Linked DNA regions of Homo sapiens: region 2 is linked to region 1. The links are contacts of gene promoters, found by promoter capture Hi-C in human tissues and cell types (Jung and others, 2019). All regions are on one chromosome and are shown on one strand. The core of a region is centred on a gene start or on the middle of the fragment in contact, and the rest is flanking DNA. Distances in the headings are between cores, read along the strand shown.

Region 1 (4,191 bases), core at 1,360-3,859:
GTAAGTGAGTTTAGGCTCCCTAGGGGGCGGTAGAGGGGAACCCCCGACAACCTTCCATCCTCTTCTCCAGGCGGCTGCGAGGCCTCCGGGGTTCCAGAGGGGTCCCCTTCTGCCGGTGCCGGCTGTCTTGAGCGCGGCCACGCAGTCCGCGTCTTCACGTGGGCAAGGGGCGGGGACGTTGGAGGGAGGCTGTCTTGGATGCTGGAGCCTTCGGTTCCCGGCTCTGCTGAGCAGAAAAGTTGAAGTCAAGGAAGGGTTGAGGCTTCCTCACAAGGGCGCGCGCGTGCCTGGGTGCCGGCCCAGAAGCCGAGAATGTGCGTATTGGGGAAGGGTCTCCCGTGCCGAGAAGACAGAGGATTTGTTCTAGCTGCCTTCCGTACAGAGGGCGCGGAGGTTGCGCTCCAGTTCGAACGCTTACCCATTGGAAAGAGGGCAGCGCCGGGGTCCAGGGAAGCTCCTTGGGAATGAATGGCCTTTGCCAAGCGGTTCCGGATCCTCTGGGTCCTTTGGGCCCACGGCACGGTGCTGCGCGAGCCCTCAGTGCCCATCGGCTCCCTTCGCCTCCTGCGTAGACGCTCCCAGGCGGGGAGGCATATCGGTTCCTCCGGGCAGCTTTGGCTAGTGTTGCTGTGGGAAAGGAGAGCCAGGGCCTGGGATGGGGGATGAGCACCTTCTTGCCCATTCCGGGCCCCAGCGTGCAGGAGGTAAACTTGCCAGCACAGACAAGACAGCTTGTTCAAGCTGCACCTCAGGCCGGGTCAGAGAATAAAACCGAGGGCTAGAAGGCCCAGAATGTCGGACAGCCCAGCGGCACCCGTCAGGGAGTCCCAGGCGCCCGAAAGAGGCGCCGCACCTCTGGCGAGTCTAGGACCCATCTTCCTGGACCTGTGCTCTGGAGTGCCTGCGGGCCTGGGTCTAATTTCTGCTTCTGGCAGGTGTCCCCCTCCCCCGCCGCTAATACCAGGAGCGCTGCTTCTGCGGTAACTTATTTTACCCCCAGAAGCCTGTTTTGGGACCGAAGTGTCAGGGTCCTGTGTGTCTTTTTATGCACTGTTCTCCTTAGTGCAAAGCCCTGCAGATATGCTTGGCCGAAAAGTCTCAGTGGTTTCAACTTCCAGATTTTGTTCCCGCGTCCGGTCGGAAAATCACCTGGGATTTGGCTGCTGTCTAAGGCCGGGGGAAAGTTTCCCTTGGAGGACGCCTATTATTATTATTTTCTTTTAGGCCCACCTGGGTCTAAATAAATGCTAAAGTTCAAACGAACCCGAGAAGGAACAGCGAGGCAGTGGATGCCGCCATTCCGTGGATGGGAGAGTCATGTCTACTGCAGGTGCGGACACCGTACTGATAGGCATTGATTATTGCAAAATCGTATTCAGTATCAAATAGAAATAGTCTTGTCCTCTAATCCCCACAGAATGTTTAAATCCAGCCCAGGGAGCCAGTTGGGGCGTCCCAACAAATACGCCCTCGAGAATTAGCGATGTTCCCCTTACAATGAAAGTCAATTGCTGCATAATAACTGGGCCAAAGAATTTCGTTAGTTTAAATTTTAAAAATTAGTATTGCACTTTGCTTTCAAGTTTGGGTGGCAAGTACCGAAGGGGAGAGGGAAGCAGCGTTTGTGTGGAAGGAAGTTTCGTTTTCTGTCTAAACATGTGGGACCTGGGTGTCTACCTCTCCAGTCGAGAGCTCTCTGCAGGCTCTCTCCCAACTTCCTGCACCTCCTCACCCTCACCTTACCCGTGGCGCTCGGGTTTTATTCCTGCCCGGCGCTTCTTTCCCAGGGCGAGTAGAGGCTTCTGAGTGACCGGCCCGCCAGAGGCAGCTGCAGAGCCGGCGTTCCGCAGGGCAGGGCAGGGCCGGGCCGCTGGGCTGGTCCAGTGCGCGCGGGTTCCCCCTGGCCTCAGCCAGCCGCGGGAGATGCCACTTCGGGCGACAGCGGCGAGACGCCGCTGTCCGCAACTCCTGGGCGGGTAGGACCGTCTGCTGCCTCTGCGGCCCTTGGGGCAGACTCCCCAGGAGTCCCTTCCTCTCTCCTCCCGCCCGGGGGCCGGGACCGCGCTGTGCCCACGGAGGGAACTGGGCGTCTCTGGCGCACTGGGGCTCCAGCTGCATGATCCCAGCTCAGACCTTAAGCCTCAGTGGGGTGTAGGTGGGATGGGATGTGTTTTTAGGAGATGAGGAGACCCCGGTTGTTGAGTCGCTCCCCAAATGCGCAGTTTCTTAACTCCAGGTGACATCCGTCTTTTGGAGGAACGAGTGAAGGCCGTTTAGGCGAAAGAGGGGTGGGTTTCAGTATTTGGATCCCTTCCCCCAGCTCTGCCAATCTCAGGTGTGTTTACGGTGGAGGTGACAGAAGGAAGGCGCGTCGGGGGACCCAGGCCTCGCAGGTCTTCGGCTGTCAACGAGGCACCGCCCACTGACTCCGCGCTTCGTCCCTCACAGCGTGGGGCTCGGCGCTGCGCCAGGCCCGGGTGCGGGGCGGAGCTAGGCTGGGACTGGCTGGGGGCCGCCCCGCCCGGCGCCTGGGCCTCCGCGCCGGCCCCCGGGGAGGAGTTATGATAATTTCCTTCTCATTAAGGCGCTCGGGTCCCCCGGCTATCGCCAGGACACACTGTTCGGGCGCGGCTTTCCCCGTCCGCGGAGCGGTCTTGACACTCGCGGCGGCAGCATCTACGCTCGCAGAGCCGCCGATGCGTGTCCAGTGACCCGGACAGCAAGGCCCGCGCGCGGCGGGGGCGGCGGCAGACGCCTGGTCACCGTGACCCCGATTTTGGATTTACCGCTTGGGGGCTGGGGGGATCCTGGATTTAACTGGCGACTGTTTTGGGGGACGCCGGACGCCATGTTGTGGAAAATAACCGATAATGTCAAGTACGAAGAGGACTGCGAGGTGAGCTGGGGCTCCGGGGTGCAGCCCCGCCCCGCCGAGGACAGTCCGGGAGGCAGGGGCCACTGGACCGAGGTCGGGGACGAGGGCATAGGAGCCCTGGCCTCTCGGTGGGACGGGATCCACTTCTCCGGACACCCCTTAGTCCATTTCTGCGGGGCCCCTTTCCTGTATAGGGCCTTTTCCTAAATAGCCTCCCCTCGGGAACGAGGCCTGGAAAGAGAATGGCAAATCCCACCCACACAGCTTACCGGGCGCTTTCCTAAGCGGCAAACAGCCCTGCTTCCCGTTTTCTCGGAAAAGTGCCCCGTCTGCAACCCTCAGACGTGGCTTTTACGCACGAAGTCTCTGTCCAAAGGGGTCAGATGAGGCTACCTGCTAGCGACACCTTGGCGGACACTCCTCCAAGGCCGGCTTGTCACCTGCCCCGCTACCTCCTCGGGGAAGCACGAAAACAACCGAAGTTTGGCTTTCAAAAGAAGTGGGGGCTGGGGAGTGGTGGTGGGGGTGCCCGAGGCCAGATGGGGCCGTAAGAGCTCGCGAGTGCTCCAGCCTGTCGGACAGGTTGAGCTAGAGTTTCGGAGAGTGGGAGGGAAGAAGGAGGCGGCGAGCGGGAAGAGGAAGAAGACGCAGGCAGCGCTAGGCGAGCTCAGGGGCGCCGGGAGCGCGGAGCTCGGGCTACGGACTCGCGGGAGTTCACTGCGCCTCCGGGCCCTGGAGGGCTGCCCCTGCCCGCAGGCCCGGGCGCTTCCGCCAGGAGGCGACAGCGCCATGTTCCTCCAGGTTCCCGGCGCCCCGAGACCCCTGGGCAGATGGGGACGCATCCTTTAGAAACTGAGTCGGGCCGCCCAGGGGCGAGGGAACGTGCGCGGGCAAGGCTGCCCAATTTCCAGGGTTCTTCATGCCCCCTCTGCGCCCCGACGTGCGAGAACACTGCCCTTGGCAGTGCAGGGCGCCCCCACTTATTACTCCCCTCGGCTGGGCCCGGCCAGCAGGGAGGGCCGCCCTGTGCGCGCGCTCCCTCTTCACTTCCCAGGGCGGCGCAGGGTGGCGGGCCCTGCTTTCCGAGCGCCGCCCGCTCGGAGGTCTTTGTCCCGAGGGCGTGGAAGGGAGGGTCCCGGGGGCGGGGGAGGTGCGCATTTCCCGCGCCGCGCACTCTATCCGCGCCTGCCGCGCTGCCACCTCCAGCAGTCCCTGCGTCATGGGCGGGCTCCACGAGATAGCTCTGCACCGGGCGTCCGGCTCCTTCGCCCCGGGCTCTGGCTCCTTCGCCCCGGGCTCCGGCCACGGACTTTTCT
Region 2 (4,009 bases), core at 234-2,733, 290 kb after region 1:
AGGGAGGCCATCTCTTCATCTGACTGCCTCCTTTTCATCTTCCTCCTCTGCCTTAAAAACCTTCTCCCTCTAGGGAGGCCCCCAATCATCCCAGCCCTCCCCTACTCCTCAAAGCTGGGTACACAGCTCCCCCACACTTCACCCACCTGTAGAGTTCCTAAGGCCACCTGCTCTTGGACAGGTGTACCTAGGTGGCACCTCACCTCCTGGGAGCAGGAATAAAATCTGATTCATCAAACTGACCTCCGCTGTCCCAGAACCAAGCTTGGAAATTTGTGTGGTTGGGCATCAATTTAGTGAGCACCTGCTGGGTTAAAAAAAAATTAACAATTTATTTTTACCTTTCCTTTTAAGAGAATTTAAAGACACTTGAAGAATACATAAAATAAAAGAAAGAAACCTAAATTAGAAGTTGGGGGAAAAAAGAAAATAGAGAAACATATAAAATATAAAAGAAAATAAATAAAAATATAAGATAAAGCCGGGAAGAAGGCTACATAAACATGCTGCGGTAGGCAGAATAGTGGCCCTCAGAAGATTCCATGTCCTAATCCTTGGAACCTGTGAATATGTCACCTTACATGGCAAAAGGACTTTGCAGATGTAATTAAATTAAGTCTTGAGATGAGGAGATTATCCTGGATTATCTGCATGGACTCTATGTAATTACAAGGGCCTCCTTTTTTTTTTTTTTCTTTAGACAGAGTCTCACTCTGTTGCCCAGGCTGGAGTGCAATAGCACAATCTTGGCTCACTGCAACCTCTGCCTCCCAGGTTCAAGCAATGCTCATGCCTCAGCTTCCCAAGTAGCTGGAATTACAGGCACGCACCCCCACACCTGGCTAGTTTTTTGTATTTATGGTAGAGACAGGTTTTGCCATGTTGGCCAAGCTGGTCTTGAACTCCTGACATCAACTGATTCCCCCCACCTTGGCCTCCCAAAGTGCAGGGATTACAGGCGTGAGCCACCACACTTGGCTCATAAGGGTCTCTATACAAGAGAGACAGAAGTGTCAGTGAAAGAGAAAGACTGAAGGAGACTAATCTACAAGCTTTTTCTGTAAAGGGCCAGATAGACCACATGTGACATTAGCCGTGGTCAGTGCATCATGAATGGGCTAGCTGTGTGCCAATAAAACTTTATTTACAAAAGCAGACAGCTGGCAGGATTTGGCCCCGGGACTGTGGTTTGCCAAACACTGCTTTCTACAATGTGTTTCTGAAACACACTTGATGACAGAAGAGTCGGTGAGAGGGACAGAGGGAGACTGGAGGATGCTACGCTGCTGGCTTTGAAGATGGAGGAGCAGGCTGTAAGAAAAAAACTTTTAAAAACCTGCAAAAGAGCAGGTGCCTCCAGAAGCTAGAAAAGATGAGGAAACGAATTCTCTAGAGCCTCCAGAAGGGATGCAGTCCTGCCAACACCTTGATTTTAGCTCCCCAAGACTTATTTTGGACTTCTGACTTCTAAGACTGTGGGATAATAAATTTGTGGTTTTCTAAGCCACTGTGTTTGTGGTAACTTGTTACAGTCATTGGAAACTAATGCCCATACGCTAGATGGTCTTGGAGACCAATACTGAACAAATTCAGCTCTCAGTAGCCATCCACTCAGAGTGAAGCCCCACTAGTTTTGTGACCCACAAAGTACAACAGATGAAAGAGCAACATAATTTAGGCCCCAAAAGAAATTTTCACTAAGCGTTCTCACAGCAACAGCATCATTCCTGGTGAGCATTCAGATGGTGGGAGCAGAGGCCCCAACTGTTCTGAAGAAGGCCCTCAAGGGTGAGGGGTCTTCCACAGCCGCCTTCGCCTTTGGCTGCCCACCTGGACCACCCAGATGAGGAAAGATGATTTATTAACCAATTATGGAAATGAAGCCAACTCAAATGAAAATGTTTTCCCTTGAATCCTTTTTTGTTTTCCTAATGAAAAACTAACATCTACAAAAAATATTCGAACAGTAGAGAGGTATAAGAGCAGGGGATATGAGGCTTTATCTGTAAAGGGCCAGACAGACCACACGTGACAGCAGCCATGGTCAATGCATCACCAATGGGCTGGCTGTGTGCCAATAAAACTTTATTTGCAAAAGCAGACAGGTGGCAGGATTCGGCCCAGGACTTCGATTTGCCGACTCCTGCTTTACACAATGTATTTCGGAAGCACACTTGATTACTCAAGATTACTCAAGAGTTCTCAATTATCTGGATAATTTTGCCAACCCCTGATGTGGAGCAAAAATATAATTCTCTTCTTTCCTCTGGGTCAACCACTGGGACCACTCCTTGAGCATCATTCAGAAGATTCTAGGCATATAGAAGCAGCTGCAGTCCCCCGCCCTGCCTTCTCTTATTACACCGATGGAAGCACATAGCACTTAAAAAATGCCACAGGGGGCCAGGTGCAGTGGCTCATTCCTGTAATCCCAGCACTTGGGAGGCCAAGGTGGGTGGATCACTTGAGGTCAGAAGTTCAAGATCAGCCTGGCCAACATGGTGAAACCCTGTCTCTACTAAAAATACAAAAATTAGCTGGGTGTGGGGGCGCAAACTGTAACCCCGGCTTCTAGGGAGGCTGAGGCAGGAGAATTGCTTGAACCCAGGAGGCAGAGTTTGCAGTGAGCTGAGATCACGCAACTGCACTCCAGCCTGGGTGACAGAGTGAGACTCCATCTCAAAAAAAAAAAAAAAAAAAAAAAAGAGTGCCACATGCTCTTTTTCCCATGATGAGATTTCTCCACACTTTTCCCGTCATGAGATTTCTGCACACTCACCTGTCCAAATGGCTCCTGGACGTCTAATAACCACTCACTGTGCAAAGCCATGGGGTCAAGGCATCCTCCACCCCCACCGTGCTTTGGCCACCTTTCCCTGGAGAGCCAGCGAGGCGGGACAAAAAGAGAGCTGGGATCCAGTGAGGGTTCTGCCACATAGTGGGTAACGGTTCCAAGAACTGACTTGGAGACACACTTGCTGTGTGACCTTGGTCACGTTGACCAAACGCCCCGTTTGTCATCATGAAGAAACGTCTCGTTTCTTCATCTATTACATGGCAGCAATGATACCCAAAATGAGTTTGCAGAAGACTGTTTGAAAAGTGCCTAGCAAACGTGCGTGACCCAGGGAAGGTGCCCGGTGACACAGTGGTTGGGAATGTACTCTTGTGTTCTCCTGACATCAGGCAACTGGGGCTCCTTAAAGGAGTTGACCGTGGTGAAAAAGCCACACTAGCCACTGACTTGCTGTGTGGCTTTGGGTAAGTAACTTAACTTCTCTGAGGCTGAGTCTATATCTGGAAATGGGGTGATCATTTTAGCTATCACTTGTTGTAAGGGCTCAGTACAAAGTTGCCAGATAAAATACAGGACACCAATTAAATCTGAATTTCAGATAAGCGATGATTTTTTTTTTAAATTCATAAGTCCCAACTTTTCATTTGCTCCACCTGGCAGCCGTATTTCAGTAAGAAGATTCATGTGGAGCGTCTGGCTCAGTGCCTGGTCTGTCATGGGAACTTAAAAGGTAGTCCTTTTACATTCTGATTTTGCATGTTATCAGCAAATGGGGTTATGTCTCTCACTCCTTACCTACCCTGATCGTTGTGAGAATTGGACCAAGTAAGGTCCCGAAACCAAGGCCCTGTAGTCCAGCTTCCTGCTCCCTGACAGCCATTCTTATTCTTATTTTTATTATTCCTTGTTCTCCCCATCCTTGAATGCCATTGGCGCACAACTGAATAAAGCCAGTTTCCCAGGCTCCAGCCCTCCCTCTCTCTTTCTGTTGAAGGCTCCCTCCTGCTTCTGAAAGGGGGTTTCCGGCAGAGGAGCACCCCTCAGGCTGAGTAGGAGGGGCAGCCCCCTCTCAACTCTGCCTGCTTTGGAGGGTCTGGCTTCAAAGACCTGGAGATGGCACTAAAGGTAAGAGAGTTTTGAAAATACTTGTTCCCATAGATTCTGTTTTATCTGAGAAAATCCTCCCTCCTCCACCCTCGTATTCCCGGGACC

Evidence for each region. Contacts are between HindIII fragments. The study calls those that stand out against the background at their distance.
Region 2: a contact is called between a fragment that was not itself captured here and the fragment with the promoter of TFAP2C in region 1, in 1 of the 25 tissues and cell types used here (spleen).

The regions. Positions count from the first base shown.
Region 1 is chr20:56,626,697-56,630,887 of GRCh38, forward strand. TFAP2C (transcription factor AP-2 gamma) reads left to right here and starts at 2,610. Exons shown (of 7, transcript NM_003222.4): 1 at 2,610-2,896. The coding sequence starts at 2,849. RefSeq lists an enhancer at 397-1,157 and silencers at 2,521-2,580, 2,637-2,931. The HindIII fragment of the contact is 13,903 bases long and covers 1-4,191 here.
Region 2 is chr20:56,913,581-56,917,589 of GRCh38, forward strand. No RefSeq gene overlaps it. Among named protein-coding and RNA genes, the nearest start is that of TFAP2C, 290 kb to the left of the region's middle. The HindIII fragment of the contact is 7,048 bases long and covers 1-4,009 here.